Linked DNA regions of Homo sapiens: all the other regions are linked to region 1. Evidence: promoter capture Hi-C in human tissues and cell types (Jung and others, 2019). All regions are on one chromosome and are shown on one strand. Each heading gives the region's core, a stretch centred on a gene start or on the middle of the fragment in contact. The rest is flanking DNA. Distances are from core to core; before and after follow the strand shown. Region 1 holds the start of ENAH (ENAH actin regulator). Region 2 overlaps H3-3A (H3.3 histone A). Region 3 overlaps SDE2 (spliceosome associated SDE2).

What was found. Contacts are between HindIII fragments. The study calls those that stand out against the background at their distance.
Region 2: a fragment that was not itself captured here is called in contact with the fragment with the promoter of ENAH in region 1 in 1 of the 25 tissues and cell types used here (hippocampus).
Region 3: a contact is called between a fragment that was not itself captured here and the fragment with the promoter of ENAH in region 1, in 1 of the 25 tissues and cell types used here (dorsolateral prefrontal cortex).

The regions. Positions count from the first base shown.
Region 1 is chr1:225,651,768-225,654,553 of GRCh38, forward strand. ENAH (ENAH actin regulator) reads right to left here and starts at 1,356. Exons shown (of 14, transcript NM_018212.6): 1 at 919-1,356. The coding sequence starts at 923. RefSeq lists a silencer at 1,206-1,335. The HindIII fragment of the contact is 16,817 bases long and covers 1-2,786 here.
Region 2 is chr1:226,070,203-226,072,988 of GRCh38, forward strand. It overlaps H3-3A (H3.3 histone A), which reads left to right. Exons shown (of 4, transcript NM_002107.7): 4 at 1,149-1,817. The coding sequence ends at 1,277. Among named protein-coding and RNA genes, the nearest start is that of H3-3A, 8.9 kb to the left of the region's middle. The HindIII fragment of the contact is 4,533 bases long and covers 1-2,786 here.
Region 3 is chr1:225,988,655-225,991,440 of GRCh38, forward strand. SDE2 (spliceosome associated SDE2) reads right to left here. Exons shown (of 7, transcript NM_152608.4): 5 at 2,589-2,709. Among named protein-coding and RNA genes, the nearest start is that of SDE2, 9.3 kb to the right of the region's middle. The HindIII fragment of the contact is 3,352 bases long and covers 1-2,786 here.

The sequences.
Region 1 (2,786 bases), core at 106-2,605:
AGAACAGGTTTAGGAAAGGCTGGAAAAAAAATCTCCAATGAATGACACACCACATCACGGTTTATTCTCCTACACAATTTGAGAAACAATAAAGAAAAATATCATACCATATGTTTCATCGTATCAATTAAAAAAATATTTTACGACAGTACATTCAATTCTTCGGGGCCGCAAAAATAATTTAGCTCCTGTTTTATTGAGTACAGAGCAAAGGGAAAAAGCAGCTGCTGCAATGCAACACAGGCTGCTACAGAGAAAGGGGAGAAAAGGCTTTTCCAAACAGATCCCTTCCCCGCCCCCGCTTACACACCCCTACCAACTTACTTATCCCAGTCTTTTACTGCCCCCACCACGTGAACCTAATCAATTCTTTCCCTTCCCCCACCATCGTGAAATTTCACCTTTCACAGCTCCTTCACCTACCCCTACCAGAGGCACTTTATTACCCGCAGAGATTTCAGACCTTTCAAACTTTTCTTCCTTTTTTAATTAAACACGAGAGTTCGGAGGCAAAAGTGCATGAAATTTTTACATATATACGAAAAAATACCTGTTTCCCAGCAACACGCACGCTTCGATTCTCGAACCCCTCCCCATCTCCCGGGTTTCGCTTGCAAAGGCTTGGGGGAGGGAGCCAGGCGCAAATTAAATTTAGGAAGGGAAATCCTGGGTGAAAGAAGAGCATTTGAGGAAAAATGAGAGAACGATGAAGCGAGACCCCCAAACCACACGGGTTGGGGAGGTTTCCAAGAAAGAAAGAGAAATTGGAAGGGACAAAAGGCGGAGGGGGGAGGAACAGACCGGAGACCAGGGGAGACGCGCCGGGCCGGGAGAGGGAAGGCGGGGTCCGAGGAGAACGGGGGTCGCGGCTCCCGCGGCACAATGGCCCGCCCGGCCCCCGCCCCGCGCGCCCCTCACCTCATGGTGCCGGCGGCGCAGAGGCTTCCCCACCAGCCGGGAGACGCAGAAGGCGCCGAGCCGAGGGGGGGGTCTCTCCTCCAGGGGTGGGGAGCAGCTCGGAGACGGGAGACAAGTGTCCGGCTCCTCCTTCGGCGGCCAGGGGGCTACACCATCTCCTCGCACAAAGCCGAGGCGCCGGCCGGGAGTGTGGGAGAAGAGGGCGAGAGAAAGGCTGGGGAGGGGGCGGAGAGGCCGAGGCGCGGAGCTGGTCCCCAGGCGGCCGCCGCCTCCCACCTCCTCGTGGTCCTGCTCCTCCTCCCGGAGCTTCCTCGGCCGCCCTCTGAGGGGTGCCCGCCGGGGCCGCGCGCCCGGCCGCCGCTCCACAGGCCCGCGCTCGCCGCGCCGCCGCCGAGGCCGTGTGCAACCGGCAGCTGCTGCAGCCGCGGGAGGAGAGTCGGGATCGCCGCGAGGAACCCGGGAGGAGGCGGGGCGCGCGGCGGAGGAACACGCAGGCGCCGCCCTCCTCCCCTCCTTCCCCCGGGGGCGAGGGGGCGGTGCGGGGGGAGGGGAGGAAAGGGGAGGCGGGGGGCCGGGCGCACTCCCCCGCGCCGGCGGCCGGGCCCCCGCCGGACTGCGGAGAGCGAGGCTGGGAGAGAGCGAGCGCGACGGCGGCGGCGGCGGAGAGAGGCTCTTTGTTGCCTCCCTACCCCGCCCCCTGCACCCCTCTGGGATTCGGGCGGGCCACCACCCCCCCCTCCCGCCCAACACCTCCGGCCAGTTGTCGGCCGGGGTTCCTCGCCCGTGGTTGTCCTTGACCGTCGGCCCCCTCCCCGTCGCCTCCCGCTCCCCAGAGGCTTGGGGAGCTCCGAGGCCTCCCCCACGGCCACGGTGCGGAGACCGAGGCGCCGAGACCTCCTGGGCGCCAGACCCGTAGGCACCGGCGTGGGGAGCTTGGACGCGTGACTGGGCACAGGGCCGGGCCAGGAGACTCCGGGTCGGCTCGCGGCCGGGTGCCCTCGCGCGGGGCGAGTGCTCAGCCCGCCCTGTTGCGGTCTCAGGACGGGGATGAGGGAATCGGGGGGCATCCCGGTCAGCCCAACTGCCCGCCCTCGCCGCGGCTGCGCCCAGCGATTCCTGCGGAGTTGAGGAGGGGCATATAAATGGAAAATATGGTCATCATTGTTCCCTTCGCTCCTTTTCTTCCCGAGGAATCCCAGCGTGCTGCGCCGATGGAACGAGTTGATGTGCACACTAGGTATAGGGATGACTTCATCCCCAAACGAACGCAGCCGACTCTCGGGGAAACGCAGTCGCCGGGAGACGCGCGCGGAACAGTGTGTTGCCGCAAGAGTGGAAGAAGAGAAACGCAGCCAGTGGAGCCGCTTTCCAGCGTCATTAGCAAAGAGGGAATCCCGGGCAGGGGGCGGGGAGAGAGAGGAACTAATGATAATTTTAAATTTTTCGTCATTCCCAATGGTCTTGAAGTCACCTCCCTTAAAAAGTAGATATAAAATACTGGCGAGGCAATTTCATTTCAAGTCAAGTCGGGGAGGAGGGCATCCAGGAAGCCAGAATTGATCGTTGTTGAAGGTTTTGTTTTCGGTTTTTTTTAAATCTAAAAACAAATCCAATAATAAAATTTTTAACTGTACGAATTACGGCCCCCTTTTAGTCCGGAAGACAGGGATGTACTTTCTGTATAAAAGGTGAGGAGGATAGAAAAGGGTTGTTGCTACAGGGATCCTATTGCTGAAGGATCTCATCCAAAATGGAGGACCTACCATGACTCCAGGAATCCATTCAAAAGTTTTGGTGTTTTGTTTTAAGATGCAGGTACCATTCAAAAGATAGTTAGGAAGGTTGGGATAATGTACACTTCCAAATGA
Region 2 (2,786 bases), core at 88-2,587, 420 kb after region 1:
CAGTTGCGGTGGCTCACTCCTGTAATCCCAGCACTTTGGGAGGCCGAGGCAGGAGGATCACGAGGTCAGGAGATCGAGACCATCCTAGCTAACACAATGAAGCCCCATCTCTACTGAAAATTAGTCAGGCGTGGTGGTGGGCGCCTGTAGCCCGAGCTACTCGGGAGGCTGAGGCAGGAGAATGACATGAACCTGGGAGGTGGAGCTTGCAGTGAGCTGAGATCTTGCCACTGCACTCCAGCCTGGGCAACAAAGAGAGACTCCGTCTCAAAATAAATAAATAAGGAACTGCCGGGCGCGGTGGCTCACGCCTATAATCCCAGCACTTTGGGAGGCCAAGGTGGGTGGATCACGAGGTCAGGAGTTCGAGACCAGCCTGACCAACATGGTGAAACCCCTTCTCTACTAAAAATACAAAAAAGTAGCCAGGCATGGTGGCGCATACCTGTAGTCCCAGCTACTCGGGAGGCTGAGGCAGGAGAATCGCTTGAATCCGGGAGGTGGAGGTTGCAGTGAGCCGAGATCGCGCTACTGCACTCCAGCCTGGGCGACAGAGTAAGACTCCATCTCAGAAAGAAAGAAAGAAATACGGAACTAACTTGTGATATGTTCTGGAATCAAAAGTACTCTTATGATAAAACAGGTATGAAAGGGAACATAGATGAGAAGCATGTGATAAAAACCACTTGTTCACCATGTTATACTACTGGACAAGGCAGAGGTTCACATACTGTGTGAATGGGATTCAGAGTGAGGAGGAGACTAGGCTGGGATGGGGTATTTGGATTGGACATGATTGCGTTTATAAGAATGAGAGTGTTAAATTGGATTTCTTGCTTTATTTGTGACATTTCAGTTTATTAGAAATCATGTTACCATTAGAAAAATTGAAGTTTCCTAGTAACAAAGTAATTTGATTTGTGTAACTTGATAAAAGATTTACTGACTTAAGCTTTTGTTTTTTTTCATAAGCTGCTTTTGAGCTTTGTCCCACAGGTTGTAAAATGTAAGCATTTGGTAAAATTGTCAGCATCTTGCCCAGTCATTTTTTTAAAGGGTTCAAAAACCTTTTTGTTTTAATTCGTATAGTTGGGTCTTAACTATTGGAAATAACATCATCAGTAATTTTTTCTTCATTCCTTTTGCAGGAGGCAAGTGAGGCCTATCTGGTTGGCCTTTTTGAAGACACCAACCTGTGTGCTATCCATGCCAAACGTGTAACAATTATGCCAAAAGACATCCAGCTAGCACGCCGCATACGTGGAGAACGTGCTTAAGAATCCACTATGATGGGAAACATTTCATTCTCAAAAAAAAAAAAAAAAATTTCTCTTCTTCCTGTTATTGGTAGTTCTGAACGTTAGATATTTTTTTTCCATGGGGTCAAAAGGTACCTAAGTATATGATTGCGAGTGGAAAAATAGGGGACAGAAATCAGGTATTGGCAGTTTTTCCATTTTCATTTGTGTGTGAATTTTTAATATAAATGCGGAGACGTAAAGCATTAATGCAAGTTAAAATGTTTCAGTGAACAAGTTTCAGCGGTTCAACTTTATAATAATTATAAATAAACCTGTTAAATTTTTCTGGACAATGCCAGCATTTGGATTTTTTTAAAACAAGTAAATTTCTTATTGATGGCAACTAAATGGTGTTTGTAGCATTTTTATCATACAGTAGATTCCATCCATTCACTATACTTTTCTAACTGAGTTGTCCTACATGCAAGTACATGTTTTTAATGTTGTCTGTCTTCTGTGCTGTTCCTGTAAGTTTGCTATTAAAATACATTAAACTATACCTGCTTTTGGTCTTTATTATAGCCTTGCCCTACAATTATATTCCAAATAATTTCAGTATTAAGTCCTTTAATAGTCACTTTATATCTGAGACGTGAGACTTATTGAGAGAGAAGGAAAGTATAGACTTGGTGGCAAAAGGAACTTGGCTTTATTTCTAATTTTTAGAAGCTTGCCACTACCCAGTGGTCTTAACTCTTTGGATGTGTTGTCTTCTGAACCAATAATTCGAAAAGCTAATCAACAGGATCACCTGGAAATAGTGGAATCTGTAAGTAGATTGAACTTTCATGAATGTTTAATAACAAATGAGAGTGTGTAACAGTCTTTAGCTCAAAAATTAATGCATTCAAGATCTGGCTATTTTAAGATGCTCTATTAGTTAACCCTGAATTTATTCAAGCACTAATAGTTAATTCTTAGCCCTGTTTTATTTAGTGTTGGTACAATTAATGTGAAATGAGGATAATTAAACCTTCTAAGACTTTTAACACATCCCATTAGTTGTAACGTTTGAGTGTTTGAAACTGCCCTAGAAGTGATACGAAATGTTAATAACTATGCCAAGAATAGACGCATGTCAGTAAGATACGACACTGGGCTTGCATTCTTACTGCTCTTAAACATTTAGCCATAACTTAATCTTTTGACTATAGGTGACTATAAAATTCTTTAATGGGAGAATTAATTACTTTAAGAGGCTGATTTTGTTAGCATGCATCCTAGTTTTCAGTATGATCTTTTGCATGTACTTCTACAGGGAAGTACGGGTAACACTTGGAACTTTCTCAATATAAGTTACTAAAAGCCAATTGTAGTTGAATGTTCTCTGTTCAATCCAGTTTTTCAGTGCAAAAGACCAAATGGCCTTTTCATGAAACACTTCAGAAGAAAAAGGTGTCTCCAGTAAGGGAGGAAGTTAATGTTACCTGCTGGAATCTGATAAAGACCAGTTATTTACAAGTAGACAATACAGTCCTTTGAGTT
Region 3 (2,786 bases), core at 127-2,626, 340 kb after region 1:
GGGGGCAGAGGTTGCGGTGAGACGAGATCGCGCCATTGTACTCCAGCCTGGGTGACAGAGTGAGACTCCGTCTCAAAAATAAATAAATAAAGCAAAGAGTTATAGTTTGTTCAGGAAACAGAATCTGTTTCTGCTAGCTTGAGATGGAGAACAGGCAAATTTCGGAAAAAGATATTCTAGAGCTTATAAACAGAAGGAAAAAACATTTCAATGAGACTGGGACCAACTGTCCCAAAGATCCAAGAGGATCTCCTTTCTAAAGTCCTGAATCTCTAAAAGCAAAATTGATTTTGCTTAAAGCTTTCTTCCCCCGCATTACATTACCTTCGACGGTTGGAAATTAGATAAAATAATAAATAGTTGGCCGGGCGTGGTGGCTCATGCCTGTAATCCCAGCACATTGGGAGGCCGAGGTGGGTGGATCACAAGGTCAGGAGTTCAAGATCAGCCTGGCCAATATGGTGAAATCCCGTCTCTACTAAAAATACAAAAATTAGCCAGGCCTGGTGGCAGGTGCCTGTAGTCCCTGCTACTCGAGAGGCTGAGGCAGGAGAATCACTTGAACCAGGAGGCAGAGGTTACAGTAAGCCATCATCGCACCACTGCACTCCAGCCTGGGGGACAGAGCAAGACTGTCTCAAAAAAAAAAAAAAAATAATAATAATAATAATAAATAGTTATAAAGAAAATCCATCCGGGCATGGTGGCTAACGCCTGTAATCCCAGCACTTTGGGAGGTTGAGGTGGGTGGATCACTTGAGGTTAGGAGTTCAAGACTAGCCTGGCCAACATGGTGAAACACCATCTCTACTAAAAATACAAAAATTAGCCGGGTGTGGTGGCACATGGCTGTAGTTCCAACTACTGGGGAGGCTGAGGCAGGAGAATTGCTTGAATCTGGGAGGCAGAGGTTGCAGTAAGCCGAGATTGTGCCATTGCACTCCAGCTTGGGCGACAGAGCAAGATTCTGTCTCAAAAAAAAAAAAAAAAGAAGGAAAATTATTCGGTGCCGCCCCTTGATTTGATTGGTGAAAAAATATATAAAGAAAATCCTAGGAACAATTATTCTGTTTTACAGAGGTGTTTCCCAATAATAAATATTAATACACACACACACACATTTATAAATCCTATGCTTGGGCTGGACGCGGTGGCTCACGCCTATAATCCCAGCACTTTGCGAGGCTGAGGCGCGAGGATCACCTGCTCAGGAGTTTGAGACCAGCCTAGGCAACATGGCAAAACCCTGTCTTCACAAAAAAATAAAAAAAATCAGCTGGGCATGGTGGTATGTACCCTAGCCCCAGCTACTCAGGAGGCTGAGATGGGAAGATAGCTTAAACCTGGGAGGTCAAGGCTTCAGTGAGCCGAGATCGCGCCACTGCACTCCAACCTCAGCAACAGAGTGAGGAACCTGTCTCAAAAAAAAAAAAAACACACACAAAAAAAACACCCATGCTTTATTAATAATTACTCAAACCCAGAAATTACCCAAATGTCTACCAAATGGAGACTGGATAAACAAACTGTGGTACATTCACACCATGAAACGATACGGAGTGATAAAAAAGAATGAACTACTGATACATACACTACCATGGATGAATCTCTAAAGCTTTATATTAAGTGAGAGAAGCCAGACACTAAAGGCTATATGACATCCTAGAAAAGACTAAATCATAGTAACAAATATCACACTGGTGACCAATGGTTGCCAGGGTCTAGAGGTGGGGAAAAGGGACTTAACTGCAAAAGGGCACGTGGGAACTATTTCAGGTCATTAAAATACACTCTATCTAGATTGTGGTGATGGTAACGTGACTATATAGTACATATACATTTTTCAAAAGTCGTAGAACCAATCAACCAAAAAGGGTGAATTTTGCTATATATAAATTATACCTCAATAAACCTCATTAAAAAAATACAAACCACAGGTAGTGTCACCACCCTTTCTCTCAGGAACACTTAATTCCCATTTCAGAAAGAACAAACATTGTATGCTGAACTCATAGTGTTATATGATCTTTGATTAATAATTATCTGTTTATCCCCAAAGGGGATAAACTTATTTTCAAGAACTTGGCCCAAGGGAAGTCACTGGCAACAAGAGGACCAACTAGAGGGACAAGAGAACTATCAGAAAAATGGACAAGAAAAAGTACTGCTGTGCTTTTTACCCTCAAGTGCGAAAGTGGTGAAGAGAAGTCTGGCAAAGTGACCAAAGACCTCAATGATGACTGTGAAAAACCACAGACAACCACCTGGAAAGTACAGCTTGATTTCCACCTAGAATTTCTAAAAGTTAAACCCCTTCAACACCAAAAAAGTAATTCAAATATAAAGCTATTTTTATGTTTCAGTGTAAGGAAAAAATTCATCCTTTACATTCAATTAATGGCATTCACAGCAGAAACCATTACCAGTACAATGTGACAATCACTGAAACCTAAAGCTTGAAGCACTCTGGAAATTTTCTGAGCTCCCACCAAACACTACACAAAAATGTGTTTATGCCAGATAAACAAGGAGGAAATGTCTCAAGTCAGTCCTCAAAGATCAATTGGGAACGAAAGTGAAACACTTACCAGAAGCATCTCCTCTTTCCCGCACTGGCTCCTCTGTCTGTTTGAGATTTAGTAGGCCATTGCCGTTTCCGATTCTCACTGATTTCTGCTGAAACCATCTTGCTGGAGGCAGCCTGCATACCTAACCAGAAATTTTAACAACTCAGTTTCTACTATAGGGACTAAGTTTAAAGAAATCATAAATAACATGGATTGCAA